7 separate regions of the Homo sapiens genome follow, and all the other regions are linked to region 1. Evidence: promoter capture Hi-C in 16 types of primary human blood cells and fetal thymus (Javierre and others, 2016). All regions are on one chromosome and are shown on one strand. Each heading gives the region's core, a stretch centred on a gene start or on the middle of the fragment in contact. The rest is flanking DNA. Distances are from core to core; before and after follow the strand shown.

The links. Contacts are between HindIII fragments. The CHiCAGO score rates a contact against its expected background, and 5 or more counts as called.
Region 2: a contact is called between a fragment that was not itself captured here and the fragment with the promoter of ZNF706 in region 1, in 1 of 17 cell types (neutrophils). The highest score is 5.8, in neutrophils.
Region 3: a fragment that was not itself captured here is called in contact with the fragment with the promoter of ZNF706 in region 1 in 1 of 17 cell types (fetal thymus); the score reaches 5.5 in fetal thymus.
Region 4: a fragment that was not itself captured here is called in contact with the fragment with the promoter of ZNF706 in region 1 in 2 of 17 cell types (total B cells and total CD8 T cells); the score reaches 5.9 in total B cells.
Region 5: a contact is called between a fragment that was not itself captured here and the fragment with the promoter of ZNF706 in region 1, in 4 of 17 cell types (megakaryocytes, endothelial precursors, M0 macrophages and 1 more). The highest score is 6.3, in megakaryocytes.
Region 6: a fragment that was not itself captured here is called in contact with the fragment with the promoter of ZNF706 in region 1 in 3 of 17 cell types (total B cells, megakaryocytes and naive B cells); the score reaches 6.2 in total B cells.
Region 7: a contact is called between a fragment that was not itself captured here and the fragment with the promoter of ZNF706 in region 1, in 1 of 17 cell types (naive CD4 T cells). The highest score is 5.7, in naive CD4 T cells.

The regions. Positions count from the first base shown.
Region 1 is chr8:101,204,271-101,207,225 of GRCh38, reverse strand. It overlaps ZNF706 (zinc finger protein 706), which reads left to right and starts at 1,553. Exons shown (of 4, transcript NM_016096.5): 1 at 1,553-1,791. RefSeq lists silencers at 989-1,208, 1,419-2,018. The HindIII fragment of the contact is 4,829 bases long and covers 1-2,955 here.
Region 2 is chr8:100,695,823-100,698,777 of GRCh38, reverse strand. No RefSeq gene overlaps it. Among named protein-coding and RNA genes, the nearest start is that of MIR7705, 5.7 kb to the left of the region's middle. The HindIII fragment of the contact is 5,621 bases long and covers 1-2,955 here.
Region 3 is chr8:100,712,935-100,715,889 of GRCh38, reverse strand. PABPC1 (poly(A) binding protein cytoplasmic 1) reads left to right here. Exons shown (of 15, transcript NM_002568.4): 4 at 289-428; 5 at 2,709-2,803. Among named protein-coding and RNA genes, the nearest start is that of PABPC1, 7.7 kb to the left of the region's middle. The HindIII fragment of the contact is 2,823 bases long and covers 1-2,777 here.
Region 4 is chr8:100,832,233-100,835,187 of GRCh38, reverse strand. No RefSeq gene overlaps it. Among named protein-coding and RNA genes, the nearest start is that of PABPC1, 110 kb to the right of the region's middle. RefSeq lists enhancers at 2,476-2,585, 2,626-2,675. The HindIII fragment of the contact is 2,293 bases long and covers 279-2,571 here.
Region 5 is chr8:100,849,569-100,852,523 of GRCh38, reverse strand. No RefSeq gene overlaps it. Among named protein-coding and RNA genes, the nearest start is that of YWHAZ, 100 kb to the left of the region's middle. RefSeq lists an enhancer at 1,095-1,762. The HindIII fragment of the contact is 1,911 bases long and covers 610-2,520 here.
Region 6 is chr8:100,895,653-100,898,607 of GRCh38, reverse strand. It overlaps the pseudogene RPS26P6. Among named protein-coding and RNA genes, the nearest start is that of YWHAZ, 55 kb to the left of the region's middle. The HindIII fragment of the contact is 4,310 bases long and covers 1-2,955 here.
Region 7 is chr8:100,916,612-100,919,566 of GRCh38, reverse strand. It overlaps YWHAZ (tyrosine 3-monooxygenase/tryptophan 5-monooxygenase activation protein zeta), which reads left to right. Exons shown (of 6, transcript NM_145690.3): 6 at 1-2,955. Among named protein-coding and RNA genes, the nearest start is that of YWHAZ, 34 kb to the left of the region's middle. The HindIII fragment of the contact is 6,917 bases long and covers 1-2,955 here.

The sequences.
Region 1 (2,955 bases), core at 304-2,803:
TGAGGATGAAGAGGGAGAACTGAACACCCGGATCACTGCATGCCATGTTTCATTTCGTATTTTTCTCCACTCAAATGCAATAGGCAGCTAACTCCTTCCTGGCTAGTTTAAACAATTCTGTGGTATCTATAGCCCAGTCCAAGTCATTTGGGATATACTAATATTCAGCCAACATTTCCTGGGCACTGCCACGCAAACTTGGGAAACGGCACTACAGGCAAGGTGAGAACAGCCAATGCAAACACTTTTTTTTTTTCTCCTTTGTCACTAGTAGTTCTAATTAGAAACGAATGTGGCGGGGGTCGGGGGTAAGTATGCACAATAAAGCTGATGTCTAAAGTACTGTTTCCAGATATTCAGCAATTTTAATCATGGTTATAATCGCCATTGCTCTTGTCAGATATTGAAAGTTTGCTGCCACTGCCTGTAAATGGAGAGAGAGCGCGCGCAAAGAACTTTAACCATTCCCCGAAGGATTAGCAACTCAGTACCGTATATTGTTAGCAGTCAAACTAAACCCCTCCGGGAAGCCTGGCCAGCAATTTTTTTTTCTTTTTTTGTTTTTTTTTTTTTTTAGGCAGGGTCTCACTCAGTCGCCCAGGATGGAGTGCAATGGCGCGATCTCGGCTTACCGCAACCTTCACCTCCCGGCCTCAAGCGATTCTCCCACCTCAGCCTCCCGAGTAGCTGGGACTACAGGCGCGGGCCACCATGCTCCACTATTTATTTTATTTTATTTTATTTTTGTGGAGACGTGGGTCTCGCTATGTACTCAGGCTGGTCTGGAACTCCTGGGCTCAAGTGATCCTCCTGCCTTGGGCTCCCAAAGCGCTGAGATTACAGGCGTGAGCCACCGCGCCCGGCCTAGCCAGCAATTTTTAATACGACTTAGGCTTGAATCTTGAACTCACTAAAAGCCCCCAGCTTGGGAAAACACCTGGGGTTTCCATGGGAGTGAGGTAAAGGGCGGCTGTGAAAGAACAAAGGCTGTGCGTCCGCGTTCAGAGCCGCTGGGTCCGCCGGGCTCGCTGGGGGCCGGGGCCGCGGTGTCCTGGGTGGCGGGGCTCCGGGAATGTGACTCAGCCACCGCGGCCCCGCGATCCGCTCCCGGGCCAGCGCCTCAGTCGGTGCCGAGGAGGGCGGCGCCGAGACGGGCGCGTCAGCCTGGGAGGAGCGGGAAAAGGGTCGCAGCGCCTGAGGCCCGGCCGCCGCCCGAGTGGATGAGCGAGCGAGCGACTTGTGAAACACGCCGCGGCCCGGTCACCAACCAGGACCGGGATCACGTGGCTCCCAGGGCTGGGTGAAGAAGCCGCCCGGACCGAGCGCGCCGGAGAGGAGGGGCGCCTGGGGACAGAAGGCGACGTCCCCTGAAGTTTGTGTCAGCCAGGGCCCGCCCCCTCGCGCTTATGTAATAGGGGCGCGCTGCCATTGGCCCGCGCGACCAGCCAGGGCGCAGGCGTGCGAGCGGGGTGGGGGCCAGAAGGAGGCAGCCGCAGAAAGGCACATGGGCGGGGCTGCGAGGAGCAGGCGGGGCGGGGGCGCCGAGGAGAGCGGCGCGGCGTGCGCGGGCACGAGGCGTAGTGGTCTCCCCTAAGGCTGAGGCGGCGGCGGGCGCGCGGCGGCGGCGGGCGTGCGAGGCTGTTGTGCTCCCGGCTCTCGTGTTTCCCCTCCTGAGCGGGTGGAGGAGGCCCAAGCGGTGCTGGGCGCGCTCCCCCTTCCTTTCCCTCCGGCGTCCTCTCCCGGCCCTCTCGCGCTGCACTGTCTCTCCGACGCAAGACTGTCCCGGCCCGGGTGAGCGGCAGCGGGGGCGGTGCTGACGCCGCGGGACGCCCGGGAAACGGGGCGGGGGCCGGCCAGCGGGGGGCGGTGGGGACCGTGGGACTCGCCGCGGGTCGCGAGGGGTCGCGGGGGGCGGCAGGGCCCGGCCCGGGGCGGGCCGCGGGAAGGGGATGAGTTCGGGCGCCTGCCAGGCCCTGCAGGTGGCCGGGTCGCAGGCCAGCCGCGGAAGCGGAGCGGTAACCTTACCCCCGGCGACAGCCGCCGGTCAGCTGCCAGAGTGTGGCGCTCCCGGTGGACGCAGGGGCCGGGTTTCGGGCAGTCTCGGCCTCCAGGAGGCGCGTCTTGGTCCAGGGTCCGTGAGGACTGGCTAGATGGGGGCTGCGTGGCCTTTGGTGGCAGGGAGGAGGAGGGGGTCTCCGAGGCGGGAGAGGCGGGTTTGGGAAGGAAGGTGCGCCAGGCTGAAGCTGGGGTCGGAGAAGTGTTGGGTGGAGACCTCACTGTGGGTGCGTTCCTCCTCTCCTCTCCCCAAAACGATGGTGTTAAAAGCTAGGGTCAGGATGTGGAGCGCTGCCTGGGCCTCTTCCTTTCCGATGGTTATGGAGAATGAGCCTACTTCCTGGACCCAAAATCCTTTTCTTCTGTTACTCATTTATGTTGGTTTTAAAAGGAGCTTTGGGGCAGAGCTTACTTGTTGCCTCCTACGAGAGCGCCTCATTTTAGAACTCGTTTCTTCCACTACTTCCCTCTTTGCAGCCCCCTCGGAAAACCACACTGAGAGTTGCATTAAAAACCAGCATGTAGGTATTTGTAAGTGACTTTTTCCCTCCAGTTTGTCGCATTTAATCAAGGAGCGGTTGTAGCTGCCTACGATTTTGTAGAAAATTGTGTTGGCTTGAGAGCAAGTCCTAAGTTGAGCTGTCCAAAAGCAGGTGGTTGGTTCGTTTGAATTTCTGCTTTCAGAAAGGAAATCGATGGGGCGTGTTGTCAGAAGTTAGGGGCCTACCTCATGCATTTAGCTTATTTTATTCCATTTCCTTTACCTGGTGTTAAGTTTTCTGTCTTCAGAATAAGAACAAGTGACTACTGTCTTTATTAAGTCTCTTCGGTCTTTTTGGTTGCTGTTTGGTGACAATGGAAAATGGGTTGAATCTATTGTGTAATGTTATATTTTAGGGA
Region 2 (2,955 bases), core at 316-2,815, 510 kb after region 1:
CTCCCAAAGTGCTGGGCTTATAGGTGTCAGCCATCATGCCTGGCAATGAATTATTTGTCTCCTATTTTTAGGCCTCATACTGACTCTCCCTCTTCAGTAAATATAGCCTGTCTTCTACTAAGTTAGATTTAAGGGTTTTTAGTTAACCACTTTCTGTAACACTCAGATCACTTTGATACATCTCCTGTTGCTGTATCTTCTCTACCACCTAGTTTCACATGCTAGGGAGATACATGGCAGAATTGCAGGGTAACCTAATTTTTATTTATTTTTTATTATTATTATTTTTTTGAGATGGAGTCTCGCTGTGTCACCCAGGTTGGAGTGCAGTAGTGCAATCTCGGCTCACTGCAGCCTCCACCTCCCAGATTTAAGCAATTCTCTTGCCTTAGCATCCCGAGTAGCTGGGACTGCAGGCACGTGCCACCACACCCAGCTGATTTTTGTATTTTTAGTAGATACGGGTTTCGCCGCGTTGGCCAGGCTGGTCTGGAACTCCTGACTTCAGGTGATCCACCCGCCTCGGCCTCCCAAAGTACTGTGATCACAGGCATGAGCCACCGCGCCCAGCCAGGATAACCTAATTTTTAAATTTTAGATAGTATTCGTTTATTTGACCCTCACAATCATGGCAAGTTTGCAAAATATTGTATTATCTAAAAAGGTAGAAAAACATGCAATTTATTTACTTTGTTACTGACAATATCCCCAGAAAAGGAAACAACATGGGCTTTTGATTAGCTCTGATGTTTTTTCTGCAGAGAAAAAGCTCTACATGTTGGAACATTTGTCCTTTTCAGAAAGTTCCCACAAGATACATGATCATTGATAAGGCATACGTGAACAGATGGATTTATGATTGGTGATGGGTTTTTGTTTCTATACCCCACCCCAAGTAAAAAAAAAATGTGTGGTACATGGAATATTTTTTATTATGCTTATTTCGTATTGCCAGGTAGATGGCCAGCCTGACATTCAAAATTATTTTATCAGCCCCTAAATGTTAATATTTCCCAAACTATTTAAATCAGTAGAAGACATTTTTACTATTAAGAATAAAAAGTTATAATATAAAATGGATTAAATGCCAGATTATATGCTAAACAAGTCCTTTAAATTTTTAACTTAATATTTTTAACAGATTTTTTTTTTGAGATGCAGTTTTACTCTTGTTGCCCAGGCTGGAGTGCAATGGCACAATCTTGGCTCACTGCAACCACCACCTCCCGGGTTCATGCGATTCTCCTGCCTCAGCCTTCTGAGTAGCTGGGATTACAGGCATGTGCCACCACATGCAGCTAATTTTGTACTTTTAGTAGAGACGGGGTTTCTCTATGTTGGTCAGGCTGGTCTTGAGGTCGGGAGCTCAGGTGATCTACCTGCCTCAGCCTCCCAAAGTGCTGGGATTACAGGCGTGAGCACTGCGCCCGGCTTTAACAGATATTTTTATAAGCAAATCATTTATAAGTATGGGTGACTATTCTTTACAAATCCATTTGTGATGCAGTGGTAATTTGGTGGCACTGCAATTATGGCCAGCAATGAAGATTATAAAATAATTGCCTGAGGAACCAAGCTCATGTGCACTAAAAAGAAGCAGGGATTCTTAGAAGATTCTTAGAAGTATAGAGTAGTGATTTTTTTGGGGATGGAGTCTTGCTCTGTCGCCCAGGTTAGAGTGCAGTGGTGCGATATCCGCTCACTACAACCTCCGTCTCCTGGGTTCAAATGATTTTCCTGCCTCACCTCCCAAGTGGTTGGGACTACAGGCGCCTGCCACCATGCCCGGCTAATTTTTGTATTTTTAGTAGAGACGGTTTCACCATGTTGCCTAGGGTAGTCTCAAACTCCTGAGCTCAGGCAGTCATCCTGCCTAGGCCTCCCAAAGCGCTAGGATTACAGGTGTGAGTCACTGTGCCCGGCCGATATGCCTGTTTTTTAATCAACCAATTTTTAAAAAATTTACCAGAGCCAACTCGGAATTAACATTTGTAACTGCTAATATTGAGTATATGTATGTGTTTACTTAACAAGTAAACTCTTTACTTGCACTATATCATTTAATTCTTAAAACCACCCTATGAAATTGGTTCAGTAATATATTCCCATTTTACAGATGAGGGAACTGAAGCATCAAACTGAACCGCGACTTGTCCAAAGTCACATAGTAAGTGGAGGTGGAACTGGGCTTTAAATCCAAGCCTACATACAGACTAGAGTTCACACTTTTAGGCTTGGCATAAACTGCCTATAAACTATAAAAAAGTAAAACTCCATAAAATCTCAGGTACTTGGACTACCTTCAGTCTGAGAGGTGGGGGATGGGGAGACAGCAAATTTTTATGTTTATTAAAGCATGAAATATAAAGCAAAAACAAAGTTCCTTTTTCTTTTTTTTAATTTAAATTTGTATTTTTTACGGAATCTCACTGTCACCCAGGCTGGAGTGCAGTGGTGCGATCTCAGCTCACTGCAGCCTCCACCTCCCGGGTTGAAGCATGTCTCCTGCCCCAGCCTCCCAAGTAGCTGGGACTACAGGCGCATGTCACCATGCCTAGCTAATTTTTGTATTTTTAATAGAGATGGGGTTTCACCATGTTGCTCAGGCGAATCTCGAACTCCTGACCTCAAGTGATCCGCCTGCCTCGGCTTCCTAATGTGCAAAGATGCTTTTTTGTTGTCACATTTTAAGACAGCCAAAAAGAATGAGAAAGTCATTGTTTAGAAGAAAAGGAATCCTAGTGACGAGTTGTCTTGAAAGAGAAGAAAAAAAGTTAAAAAACAGAAGAAAAAGGAGATCTTTAACCGTGCTGGGTATAAAATTCTAAGTCAGGATACTTTTCTTCCTTTGAGCATCTTTGACTGCCTGGGGAATATCAGACATTCTTTTAGTGGCCTTGTGATCATTTTGCTGAGCTTGTTCATATTCCTGTTCTAGGTTCTCTTAGAATTGAT
Region 3 (2,955 bases), core at 117-2,616, 490 kb after region 1:
TCCACTCATTTGTATTGATGGGAGTGATCCCTTTAACCCTAGGTTAGCTAGAGAAGAGAAGTGTGTATTAAAAGAAGTGGTTTTTTTTTTGTGATTGTAGTTAGAGGCTTATTCATATATTTCATGGTGTCATATCTTAAATTATGGCCCTATTTCTATTTTGTAGTGTGCTTTTTATTAGGGATTCTGAATATTCTCATTAACAGTAACAAAACCAACCATCAGGCTTACTTAATCTGAACTTTATAAAATAGAATCTAATGTTATAGTCCTTGTATATCTTATTAGATTTGTTGGACGATTTAAGTCTCGTAAAGAACGAGAAGCTGAACTTGGAGCTAGGGCAAAAGAATTCACCAATGTTTACATCAAGAATTTTGGAGAAGACATGGATGATGAGCGCCTTAAGGATCTCTTTGGCAAGTTTGGTAATGTGTCTTAATTAAATTTTTACACACAAAGCTCTGAATTAGTGCTCAGTGTTAATTTTAGCTATTACTTTATACTAAAAAAGTCAATAAAATTAGACTTACATGGTACTTTAAAATATTTGTGGTTATTTGAATTAAGCTGCTGGCCATCTATTACACTACAAAGTAGTATAATGCAAATAAATAGAATTCTATCCAGGTTAAAGGTTAATAGCATTAGATTAGCACAGTAAGGTATGACTAAGTAATTAGAACAGATTTTAAAATATTTTACTACATTAAGAGGCTGGAGATATATATGTGTGTGTGTGTGTGTGTGTGTGTGTGTGTGTGTGTAATTAGAGATCCCATGTCATCAGAAGCATATATTTGACACAGCCAGCCTACAGTGGAATGCAGTCTCATAGAACAATAAAGCTGGTCAGTCTAAGTAACATCATGTTTGAGCAGTTTAAAACAATGACTTTCAGCGATGAAACCAAAAATTCAGATTTTCCAGTGATTCAAAGTACTTATTTCCTGCATTTAAAAATAACTTCATAAAACTTGAAATTGATGAAGCACAAACCAGCCTTAGTTTAGGTAGGGGTATAACAGATAAAATAACTTTTAAGTGTTCATGTGCAGATGATTTGCTTGACCCCACCCTTTGCATTTTGTGTTGAACTTAGAGGTGTCTTGCTTTTTTTAATATGTCAAATAATAAAGAATTAGGAAATCTAATACTTTTTTTTTTGACTCTTGCTCTGTCACCCGGGCTGGAGTGCAGTCACGTGATCTCGGCTCATTGTAGCCTCCGCCTCCCGGGTTCAAGCAGTTCTCCTATCTCTACCTTGAGTAGCTGGGATTACAGGTGTGCGCCACCATGCCCAGCTAATTTTTGTATTTTTATTAGAGACGGGGTTTCACCGTGATGGCCAGGCTGGTCTCCAACTCCTGACCTCAAGTGATCCAGCCACCTCGGCCTCCCAAAGTGCTGGGATTACAGGTGTGAGCCACTGTGCCTGGCCAGGAAATCTAATATCTTACTGCCATGCTAGCATGTCACATCAAGCCCTCCACTAGAGCAAAAAAGTACCATTTTGCACAAAGATAGATGATATAAAACATAGAAAGTGACATCATGTTTACATCTCAACCCCCAAATTTAGCTACTGCCTTTTATATATTTCAACTGTCATGCTTCTTAATGTCTTATAATTAGAAGCTGTTTGTAAAAGTTGATGTTAACTACCTACCGTATGAGTAATGCTGCATAAGTTGACCACAAATATGTGAATATGTCATATTTTCTTGACTTTGGCCTCAGGAGAGAGGCACATTCAGAAGAAAATCTGCCTTGGCCCATACATCTTCTAAATTTCTGTAATCAAATGTGATTTTTAACCTTTTCTGCCCCACTTGCCTGAGATACCACCCGCCTCAGTTACCTGTCTCTCCTACTTTAGAGGGAGTTAGGGGAAAACATGTCTTCAGAAATAAATGCTTCCTCTTCCAGGTAGTTCACCTGTGTCTTTAAAAAGAATTTTTTTTCCCTGTCTTTCAAATTCCTGTATTACCTATGTCTTACCAAAGAGTCCAACTATGTATTCCTTCCACTCCTGTTGAAAGTCGGGTAGGCCAAGGCTTAATAAATACTTGTTTCTTAATTGATACAAAGAAAATCAAATTGGTCTTAGCACAATAGCTCATGCCTGTAACCCTAGCGCTTGGGGAGGTCAAAGAGGGAAGATACTTGAAGCCACAAGTTTTAGACTAGCCCGGGCAACATAGCAAGACCCTATCTCTACAAAAAATAAATTAGCCAGGCATGGTGGTATGTGGGCCAGTAGTCCCAGATACTTGGTAAGTTGAGGCAGGAGGATCACTTGAGCCCAGGAGTTGAGTTAAAGTGAGCTTATTCATTGTGCTGCTACACTTCAGCCTGGGCAATGGAATGATATACTGTCTCTATAGAAAAGGGAAAAAATCAAATTATTGGGTAAAAAATGCAACTCTTTTGTGCTAGAGCTGAGAATAAAACTTTTTACAGCCGTTTAAAGTGTACCTCCTTAAATGGAAGGAGGAATCCTTCAGGGGAGGGAAGGTGTTTACCTTCTTAATAATAAAAGGTCTTTCAATGGAAAAGTATACCTACCTGGGGCATAGAAGGCTGGGAGGGAGGAGTCAAGTTACGGAGCTTTGAAATTTTTTTCATGGCTTTGTATGTTGAAATTTGAAATGTATAACGTGAATGTTGTATGGAATATCTTTGATTTATGTAAAAAAATTTTTTAGGGCCTGCCTTAAGTGTGAAAGTAATGACTGATGAAAGTGGAAAATCCAAAGGATTTGGATTTGTAAGCTTTGAAAGGCATGAAGATGCACAGAAAGTAAGTGGTCTGTATTCAGCAGGAAGAAGGGGGTACAAAGTTGAGTTGCTCTTGTGTTGAAGTCTATGTGCATACTAATAGCTATTTGACATGTTCTTATATTTTCAGTTATTTGCATTTTATGCATTAGGTTTGAGAGTATAAATTGGTAA
Region 4 (2,955 bases), core at 176-2,675, 370 kb after region 1:
GCAAACAAATTTATTCACATATATACTTCATAATACATGGGAGATACACAGAGAATGAGTAGTTCTCAAAGTGGTGGCTTGGAATTCCAGCTTAGCTGGCATCTTTAACAAAGAACAGTACACTTTTAGAGAAGTGACAGGACAAAGGAAATGGATTTTGAGTTTCTACAGGCAGCAACTTGAGGAAAGGCAAAGAACTGGCAGATAAAGGCTGGTTAGTAAAGCTTGTTCATATGCATTCCTCTGGCTTCATCTCCAGGCCGAGACAGTTTAAAGCTTTCTTCAGTGGTAACCTTTATTTTTATTTATTTGTTTTATTTATTTATTTATTTATTTATTTATTTTTGAGATGGAGTCTCGCTCAGTAGCCCAGGCTGGAGTGCAGTGGTGCAATCTCGGCTCACTGCAAACTCCGCCTCCCGGTTCAAGTGATTCTCCTGCCTCAGCCTCCCAAGTAGCTGGGATTACAGGCGTCCACCACCACACCCGGCTAATTTTTGTGATTTTAGTAGAGACGAGATTTCACTATATTGGCCAGGCTGGTTTTGAACTCCTGACTTCAAGTGATCTGCCCACCTTGGCCTCCCAACGTGCTAGGATTACAGGCGTGAGCCACTGCCCCCAGCCCCCTTATTTATTTATTTTTATTTTTTTGAGATGGAGTCTCGCTCTGTCACCCAGGCTGGAGTGCAAGTGGAGTGCAGTGGCACGATCTTGGCTCACTACAACCTCTGCCTCCTGGGCTCAAGCAATTCTCCTGCCTCAGCCTCCCAAGTGGCTGGGACTGCAGGGGCCCGCCACCATGCTGGGCTAATTTGTGTGTGTGTGTATATTTTTAGTAGAAACAGGGTTTCACCAAGTTGACCAGGCTGATCTCAAATTCCTGACCTCAGGTGATCCACCAGCCTCAGCCTCCCAAAGTGCTGTGATTCCAGGCATGAGCCACCACATCTGGCCCACTGGTAACCTTCAGAGAGCAAGGAAGGATACTGTGACGGTTAATATTAGGTGCCAACTTGACTGGATTGGGGAATGCTAGGTGGCTGGTATCGTTTCTGGTGTGTCTGTGAGGGTGCTGGGGAGATTGACATGTGAGTCAGTGGACTGGGAGAGGAAGACTCACCCTCAGTGTGGGTGGACACCATCCAATGGCAGCCAGCACAGCCAGAACAAAGCAGGTGAAGAAGGTGGGGTAACTTTGCTTGCTGAGTCCTCTGGCTCTCTTTCTTCTTCCCACGTTGGGTGCTTGCCTCTGCTCCTCCTGCCCTTGGATATCAGACGCCAGATTCTTTGGCCTTTGGACTCTGGGACTTGCACCAGCAGCTTCCCAGGGTCTCCCGGACCTTCAACCGCAGACTGAAGGCTGCACTGTTGGCTTCCCTGGTTCTGAGGCTTTCGGACTTGGACTGAGCCACTACCAGCTTTTCCTTCTCCCCAGCTTGCAAACGGCCTCTTGTAGGACTTTGCCTTGTAATTGTGTGAGCCAATCCTCCCTAGTAAACTCTCTTTTATATACACATATATCCTATTAGTTCTGTCCTCCTGGAGAACCCTGACTCATACAGATGCCCTTTTTCTTTATAGATCTATATTCTTCTTTTAGGCAAATAGAGGAGAATGCAGGGGCAGAAAAGGTGTGATCCCTTTCCTCACCCATCATAAGGGTCATGGCCGACAACTCCTATAACAAAGACAGGTTCACAGGAGAAAAACATAACACAACTTATTTAATCAAAGTTTTACATGACACGGCAAACTTCAGAAATAAAGTCCTAAAGACCCAGGGAAAATTGTCTATTTTTATGCTTAAGTCAAATAAAAAATGGGCAGGCATGTAGAAATGTGACTGGACAACAACAATATGATCCAATGATAATGGATTGAGTGGGGAGACCCGGCAAAGCCTGTATGTTCAGATTCTTCTTGGCTTCTCTGTGCAGCATTCCTTGCTCGGGGGATAGCGCAGGACCCCTCTGGAATGGGAGTCTTATGACCAACTATTTGGCAAGGCAGGCCGGAGAATGTCTTTATGGCCAGCTTCTACACAGAAAGATGGGGAAGATGAGAATGATATGTCTCATTTTAAGGCTTGCTTTGGAGAAGAGGGGATCAGTTTCTAATAACCAGCCTTGGGGAAGTGGAATTCTGGTGTCCATGACTTGCTTTGGGGGAAAAAAGAGGCAGGAGAGATAGAACAGAAAAGATCAGAGAGAACTTGCTTCTGGAGCCTTCCAGTCTCCTTGAGATCAAAGTGCTCAACCCGCCAAAGTGCCGTACTGCAGGGCATTGTTTTCCAAGCCCCAACAGAGGGCAGAGCGCTCTGGTGCGTTTGTTTCTTCTTAAGTGTCTTCAGCTTGATAATCCCTTGTACTTTGGGGAGGGGTACTCTGGTCTCCCACACTTGCCCACCTCTAGGCATTCTTTACAGTTCTCTTTCCCCCTTGATAGATAATCCTATACTGTAGTGAATAACTCTTTATATTAAACTTTCTATGTACCAATTACTCTGTGGTTTCTAACTCCTGATTAGACTTGACCAATACAACACTGAATATGTGTCTAACCAAAGCTTATGTAATTGTTTCAGGAAGACAGGAAGTCAGAAAGTGTGAATGTGTGTATGTGAGAGAGAGAGAGCAATAAAGAGAGCGAGAGAGAGAGCGAGAGTGAAAGTAAAGGCCTTATTTTCCATCGCAAGAAGTTGACAACATACACCTGAAACTGAAAATTTATAGAATATAGTATAAAATTATCTAGAGATTTGAAAGTGGTTCTGTTTAGAGATCAGGAAATGGAGTGAGAGAGATCTGCTAATTTTTGTAACAAGCCTTGGATTTGACTCTTATGATTATAGATAACTTCAATGAGAATTAAAACTGATAAAAAGAGAATTACTAGGACTTTGGAAGGCCAAGGCAGGAGGATCACTTGAGGCCAGGAGTTCGAGATCAGCCT
Region 5 (2,955 bases), core at 316-2,815, 350 kb after region 1:
CTGGGTGAGGTGATGCCTTGCCCTGCTTTGGCTCGTGCATGGTGCGCTGCACCCACTGTCCTGCACCCACTGTCTGGCACACCCCAGTGAGATGAACCCGGTACCTCAGTTGGAAATCCAGAAATCACCCGTCTTCTGCATCGCTCACGCTGGGAGCTGTAGACCGGAGCTGTTCCTGTTTGGCCATCTTGGCTCCTCCCCCTGGAATTTTTTTTTTTTTTAATTTTTTACTCTCCCAGTGGAAGCGGGTTGATGAATCTATATTGCACTCATGAATCTATGTTCTAGTAAATAGAGGGTCAACGTAAAGTGCACTGCTTGAAGATCTGCATTCTGCATTGCCTGGCCCCCCTGCTTTAACTTCACAGGTGCAGTTCCTGCCAGCAGAGCAGATAAGGAAGGCTCCTGGAAGCAGGGGTGGCACTGCCTCTGGCCTCCTCATGTCTCTCTGCAGGCTCTGTGCTCCTGAGAGCTGAGTCCCCCAGGCTAGGAATAGCCCTAGAGAAGCTTTTGTGTCCTGTGCCTCTCTGTACTTCTCAGTATGAGCTAATAAAATCTGCTTTGCCCCAGTACTCTTCCCTTGGTTTATGGGAGAACACACAGAAAGCTTCCCCACGTAGCCACATCGTGGAGGTCTTCCACAGTGAGCATTAATCCTGCCTCAGTCATGGGAGTCACAGAGATGGCAGGCCACCTCTCCAGTTCTTTTACCATGGAGTGGGTCAGCCATTAGAAGGGACCTGGACAGCCCACTCACCTCCCAGCATTTTGTACACACTGGCCCTCCTGCTCAGAAGCCCCTCATCCATGTCTGCTGCAGCTCTGGCTGTTCCCAAGAATGGATGTCAGTGTGGGGGCCCAGCCTCCTCAGCACCTTTCAGGAGCCAGGGACCCATGCCATTCGGGGCACACGGCACAGGGCTTTGCAGGTTCCTGGGTCTGGCCACTGGGGCTGCTGTGGGCAGTGCAGGATTTAGCAGAGAAGACTTCAGGCTGTGGCAGAGCGGCAGCTTCCCTGCACAGATCCCCAGGACTGAATACTGGCTGGCTCCAAGGGTGAAGGGAGTGTTGGAACTGCACAACCAGACCCTTGCCTGCTCCCCAGCCTGCCACCCTTGCAGGGCTCATTGCACAGGCCCCACCCTCAGAGCTTCTGATTCCAAGGATCTGGAGTGGAGCCTGAGAATGTGTATTTCTTTTTTTTTCTTTTTTCTTAAAGACAAGTTCTCACTGTCTTGCCAAGACTGGAATGCTGTGGCGTGATCATAGCTCACTGTAACCACAAATTCCTAGACTCAAGCAATCCTTCCACATCAGCATCCCAAGTAGTTGGGACTACAAGGTGTGCACCACCATGCCTGCTTTTTTTTTTTTTTTTTGTCTGTTTGTTTTTTTAGTAGAAATGAGGTCTTGGTATATTCCCCAGGCTGATCTCAAATTCCTGCACTGAAGCAATCCTCCGGCCTCAGCTTCCCAAAGTATCAGCACCTGAGGAAAATGCGCATTTCTTACAAGCTCTCCCAGGTGATGTGGCTACTGCTGCAAAAGGAGCTGCATTTTGACAGCCACTGCTTTCTGTAACACTGCCTTCTCCTCTCTGAGGCCTCTGAGGCATGACACTGTTCCAATACTGACTGCTAAATTTTTGCTGCCAGCCAGGCCATGGAGGCTATTCATTCTGCCTCTCCTAGCGCTGAGTTGGTCAGCATCAGCAAAAGCTGCCTGGAGGCCAGAAGACAGACACCCTCTGGCCCCAGCTCTCTCACTGCTGTCCTGATTCCCCACACAAAGTGTTTGCTGTGGTGCAAACTTGCTGACAGGCACCACCCTGTGTTGGGGATGAACCAAATCATTACAACCCTTAGACCCATGGATTCCTGGCTCTGAAAACAGATGCAAAAGCTCCCCTGCTCCCCTGGCCAACCCACCCCACGGACATCCTCTTGCAGGCCTGCTGTGGAAGGCCCCAAAATGGGACATGACCCGGCAGGAGGTCTGAGAATGGCTTTCCCTGCCAACTGATATCAAGACCCCTAGGGCCTGGCAGTCAAGGCATGAATAAATATATTCCACAGGAGTCCTTTCAGCCATAAAGAGCCTGTCTCCCAGCCTTGTATGCAAAACCAGAGTCGGGCCCAGTGGCTCACTTGTAATCCCAGGACTTTGGGAAGCCGAGGTGGGAGGATCACTTGAGTCCAGGAGTTTGAGACCAGCCTGGGCAACATAGCAAGACCCCTGTTTCTACAAAAAATAAAATTAGCTGGACGTAGTGGTGTACCTATAGTCCCAGCTTCTCAGCAGGCTGAGGTGGGAGGATCACTTAAGCCCAGGAGGTAGAGGCTGAAGTAAACCATGATCGCATCACTGCACTCCAGCCCAGGTGAGAGTGAGACCTTGTCTCAAAAAACAAACCAAAAGCCTGAGACAAGTGCCCTGACTGGCAAAGAGGAGACGCTTTGGCTGGGGATTCTAGAACACCAGCATTCCAGAAAATGCATAAAGGTGCCCTTTCTCAAAGCTTCCATGGACTCGTTGGCTTCCAGGTAGTCACTTTTTCTATTGTTCTATCTCCCTCCTTGGCCGCCTCTTCCCATCCTATGCACTTCAGGTGCAGAGTAATGCATTTGCATGTTCAGAGCTGCTAATGACCTCGTCGGTGTTTAAACATGGACTGTCTAGTCCACATGTCTTAACCTGGGACCTGAATCTAGATGGGGACTGAAGGGTGGGCAGGTCAGCAGGTGCTGAGGCATTCATCTGTAAAGTGCTCACAAACAGCATTAAAGTAAATTGGAAGGATGGTGTCAGCTAACTAAGGCTCCCACACAACCCTTCCAGAGTGGAAAAATCTAAATTGCTTTCACTCTCAGCCTTGAGTGAGAAAAAGAGAATACCCCTCATTGGGGCTCTTTCTGCTGAGCACTTTGCACGGGCAGCTACTTGATATTCACAGTC
Region 6 (2,955 bases), core at 168-2,667, 310 kb after region 1:
CTCACATTGCACCAGGGACCAAACAGTGAATCCAGGACAAGGTCTTGAAGGACATGGTCTCTCTAGGAACTAGGGCAGCACTGCCAGCTCTTAGCTTCGCATCAGCAGGTGTCTCCCTGGCTGTTCTTCCGGGCCTGTACCTCTCACAGAACCATTGAGTCAGGCCTCTGAGCTCAATTCAGACTCAGCCATTCCATTCTCTTCTTCCTCAAAGCATTTCCCATCATGTGTCATCGCCACCAAGAATGCTACAAGCAACAAGCAAGGTCTAGAAGCAAACATCATTCCTTCTCTGCTTATACTAGCCACATTTTCCCCTAAAGCACTAATGTGTGGGATGTTTTTTTCCTCAAAATGTTACCCTTTAATCAGTATGCTCCTAATAAGAGAACAATTCTTTACAGAATTTTAAGTAGAATCCCCAAATTCTAAGCGTTCACATTTGGATTTTTTTCTATGTATGAGATATAGGCCGGGCACAGTGGCTCATGCCTGTAATCCCACCACCTTGGGAGGCTGAGGCAGGAGATTCACTTGAGCCCAGGAGTTCAAGACTAGCCTTGGCAACATAATGAGACACTGTCTCTACAAAAAATTCAAAAATGAGCTGGGCATGGTGATGTGTGCCTGTAGTCCCAGCTACTCAAGAGGCTGAGGTGGTCGGAAGATCACTTGAGCCGGGAGGTTGAGGCTTCAGTGAGCTGTGATCACGCCACTGCACTCTAGCCTGGGCAACAAAGAGAGACCTTGTCTCAAAAAAAGGGGGAGATCTAGAATACTAGAAACATATATATTAAACAAATATTCTGGGTACAATCCAGTAATTAATATGTTGAAAATCATCTTAGCATTTTGGAAAACCCAGAAAGCTACCAGGTTTAACAAAAAGAATGGCTCATCCTATCATTCTGCACTCAGACCTCCACGACAGCTCCAGCATGCAGCATTTTTGACAAATGCAAACTGCTTCTTGAAGCTCCCATATAAGGGGGAAGAAATCTTCAAATTATAATCAAATTACAATAAATACTGTTTTATGCGCCACAAAAGTCACTATCTTTATTTTTTAATTGAGGTGAAATTCATACAACATGAAAATTCAACATTTTAAAGTGAACAATTCAAGACATTTAATACATTCACAATTTATGCAACCACCACCTCTATCTCATTTCAAAATAATTTCATTACCCCAAAAGGAAACCCCAAACCCATTAAGCAGCCACTTCCTATTATCCCCTGGGACCATTGCTTGTCCCCCCAACCCCAGGCAGCAACCCATCTGTGTCCTACCTCTTGGATTTACCTATTCTGAATTATTTTTTAAACATTTAAAAAAATTGTAATAAGAATCATATGTCATAAAATTTACTATCTTAACCATTTTAAGTGTACAGTTCAGTATTGTGTTCACATTGTTGTGAAACAGATCTCCAGAACTTCATCTTGCAGAATTGAAACTCTGTACCCATTAAACAACTCCCCTTCCTCCGCCTCTCAGCCCCCAGTGACCAGCATTCTACATACTTTCTATGTCTACGAATGTGACTACTTTAGATGCCTCATATTAGTGAAATGCTACAGTCTTTGTCCTTTCCTATTCTGGATATTTGACATAAATGGAATCATACAATATGTGATCTTTTTGACTGTCTTCTTTCACCTAGCATAATGTTGTCAAGGTTCATCCATGTTGTGGCATGTATCAGTACTTCATTCCTTTTTGTTGCCAAATAATATTCCATTTTATGGATGTACCAGTTTATCCATTCATCCGTGGATGGACATTTGGGTTGTTTCCAATCTTTGGCTATTATAAATAATGCTGCTATGAACATTTGTGCCTGAGGTTCTGTGTGGATAGATGTTTTCATTTCTCTTGGGTATATACTTAGGAGTAAAATTACCGGGTCATATGGTAACTCCATGTTACCATGAGTTACTGCTAGATTGTTTTCCAAATCAGCTGCATCCTTTGACATTCCCGCTATTAGTGAGTGAGGGTTTAAATTTCTCCACATCCTCACCAACACTTGTAATTACTTGTATTTTTCATTACAGCCTTCCTAAGTGGGCGTGAAGTGATATTTCATTGGGGTTTTGACTTGCATTTTCCTCATGGCTTATTGGTACTACAAATGTTTTGGTTAATGAAAGAAGAATGAATTAATGAATTCCATGAAAGCAACAAGAAAGCAGAGGGAACTCTTGGCCCAGTCTTTGCCATCTTTTCTTTAGTGTCTGACTGAATGACTTTCCTCAGCTCCTGGCCCACCAAGGTCTCTGGTGGCTCATTCAGCCATTAGAAACCAAGCAGATCACAATGCCCATCCAACCAATGCATCAAAAGGTCAGTCCAAGAGACTCAGGCCTGCAGGAATGTAGAAACAAAGGAGGGGACATTCTTTTTTTTTTTTTTTTTAAGTACAATTTCCATTTTATTTTTCTCCAGAGAACAGCCTGTCTTCAGTCTTTAAGAACTCAGCTCCTCACATGGGCTTTGGTGGGGGACGTGGGGCAGCACCCGCAGGTCTAAATCGGGGTGGGGGTGTTCGGTCCTTGCGGGCTTCACGAGATCGATTCCTGACTACTTTGCTGTGAATTGCACAACTCACACAGTAATGTAGCTTCACATACAGCTTGGGAAGCACATAGGCATCGAAGACGCTCACTTCAGAAATGTCCCTGACTGCTGCGGCCTCCACTATGTTTCGAATGACGAATTTCTTAATGGCCTTGTCCTTGGGCACGCATCGGGCACAGTTAGTGCAGCGAATAGGCTGCACGTGGCCGCGGCCCTTTTTGGCACGACCATTGTTCCTTCTTTTCTTTGTCATCTTGGAGGCACGGACCGGAGAGAGCAGAAGGGGACATTCTTATCTTTACAGCTTTCAGCTAGAGGTGGAACTGTCCCTGTTAACGGGCATTTTGGTTATCACAATGACCGGGGTAAGA
Region 7 (2,955 bases), core at 188-2,687, 290 kb after region 1:
AAACACAAAATTTATCATAACAAAAATACTACTAATATAACTACTGTTTCCATGTCCCATGATCCCCTCTCTTCCTCCCCACCCTGAAAAAAATGAGTTCCTATTTTTTCTGGGAGAGGGGGGGATTGATTAGAAAAAAATGTAGTGTGTTCCATTTAAAATTTTGGCATATGGCATTTTCTAACTTAGGAAGCCACAATGTTCTTGGCCCATCATGACATTGGGTAGCATTAACTGTAAGTTTTGTGCTTCCAAATCACTTTTTGGTTTTTAAGAATTTCTTGATACTCTTATAGCCTGCCTTCAATTTTGATCCTTTATTCTTTCTATTTGTCAGGTGCACAAGATTACCTTCCTGTTTTAGCCTTCTGTCTTGTCACCAACCATTCTTACTTGGTGGCCATGTACTTGGAAAAAGGCCGCATGATCTTTCTGGCTCCACTCAGTGTCTAAGGCACCCTGCTTCCTTTGCTTGCATCCCACAGACTATTTCCCTCATCCTATTTACTGCAGCAAATCTCTCCTTAGTTGATGAGACTGTGTTTATCTCCCTTTAAAACCCTACCTATCCTGAATGGTCTGTCATTGTCTGCCTTTAAAATCCTTCCTCTTTCTTCCTCCTCTATTCTCTAAATAATGATGGGGCTAAGTTATACCCAAAGCTCACTTTACAAAATATTTCCTCAGTACTTTGCAGAAAACACCAAACAAAAATGCCATTTTAAAAAAGGTGTATTTTTTCTTTTAGAATGTAAGCTCCTCAAGAGCAGGGACAATGTTTTCTGTATGTTCTATTGTGCCTAGTACACTGTAAATGCTCAATAAATATTGATGATGGGAGGCAGTGAGTCTTGATGATAAGGGTGAGAAACTGAAATCCCAAACACTGTTTTGTTGCTTGTTTTATTATGACCTCAGATTAAATTGGGAAATATTGGCCCTTTTGAATAATTGTCCCAAATATTACATTCAAATAAAAGTGCAATGGAGACCTTGGGGTCTTTATTTCCAGGAGAAAAGATACCTTCTGCATCTAGGGCAACAATCCTTTTCCCTCGCAGCTCTTTCTTTTACCTCACTTACTGATTTCTCCTGACCCCCAAGCCAAGGAGGTAAAATAATTATATATATATATATATATATATATATATATATATAAAGTAATTATATTTTATAGCTAGACTGAAGAGGTGGGAATTTTTTTGTTGTTTTTTTTTTTTTTGGAGACAAGAGTCTTGCTCTGTCACCCAGGCTTGAGTGCAGTGGTGCGATCTCGGCTGAGTGCAACCTCCGCCTGCTGGGTTCAAGCGATTCTCCTGCCTCAGCCTCCCAAGTAGCTGGGATTACAGGTGCCCGCCACCACACCTGGCTAATTTTTGTGTTTTTAGTAGAGACAGGGTTTCACCATGTTGTCCAGGCTGGTCTTGAATTCCCGACCTCAGGCAATCCGCCCATCTCAACCTCCCAAAGTGCTGGGATTACAGGCATAAGCCACCGCGCCCAGTAGAGATGTGATATTATTCAAGTAAATAAAACCTGAAACTTGGCACATTTGCCTATTTAATGTGCATCAGTCATCTGAACTAGGTTGATCCTGGAATAATGAAAACACTTCACTAGTATTAACTAATGTTTTCTACATAGTAGTTCCCAATAGATTAAGGAAAATTTCCAACCTGAGATTCTTTGTTTTGGAATTTGAATAATGTGTTTGTAACTATTCCTTGATTGTCCCAAATCCAGGCTTTACGTCTGCTTTTGTCAATGTAACATCCTAGTGCCAGGAAATTGGAAAATCCAATGACTTTTTGTGTGTAAAGTACTGGAATTTTTTTGTTCGTTTGTTTTTAAGACGGAGTGTCAACTCTCGCCCAGGCTGGGGTGCAGTGGCCTGATCTCGGCTCACTGCAACCTTCTCCTCCCAGGCTGAAGTGATTCTCCTGCCTCAGCCTCGCAAGTAGCTGGGACTGCAGGCATGTGCCACCACTCCTGGCTAATTATTTGTATTTTTAGTAGAGAGAGGGTTTCACCGTGTTAGCCATGATGGTCTCATTCTCCTGACCTTGTGATCCGCCCACCTCGGCCTCCCAAAGTGCTGGGATTACAGGCGTGAGCCACTGTGCCCACCCTGGTATGTTTTTTTTAAATTGGCCACTTAAGAGTTGTCCTTCAGAAAGTGGAGCAGCAGTGTGATTAGTAAAAACGATGGGCTTTCCTGCAGCTCTGGCTTATGGTCTTTGTTTTTCCAGTTAACAGCTGTTACTTCATGCTGTTATAGGGGGTGGGGGGAGAAAGAGAAAGAATATGTCTAGTGGCTTAATTTTGGGGCTCAATTTGTTTATTATGTTTTTCCTGCAAAAGAGTCACCAGTCTTGTCATGGCTCAATGCATATTTTAAAATGAGTCAAAGCCAATTTGGAAGCTGCTATCTTAGGTTATTTGTAGTCAGGCTTCAAATGGAGAGTGAAACTTTGACTTTGAAAACTGGTGCTCTATGCTCAATGATGGTCTTACACATTCCTCTAGGGAAAGGTCAAGAAATAAATTTGGCTTGATTGTATTCTCTCATTTACCATATAGGAAATACTATGGTAGAACTGAAAATATGTACAATAGTAAAGTGGTGGCTGAGACTGGGCACTTGGAAAATAGACTTGGATTCTTTTCTAAGTGTGAAACTAATTAAATACTTTTATGTGACTGGTAGTAGTCACAGTCTCCTTGATTGATTCTAGTTCCTTTTCAAAGTGGAGAGACCTGAATATAGATTGTAACAGGATGTCCAACCTTGCCAGACAAGCAGGCATATATGTCTCTGGGATGCAGAAGCAGTTACAAGTTAATATATTTAAGCATAATGTTAGCCAATCCTAGGTGATACCAGAGATGTGAATATTTGATCATATTTGAGTTCATTCCTTGAAAGTCCAAACCTAACTGGTCTTAATTGATTAC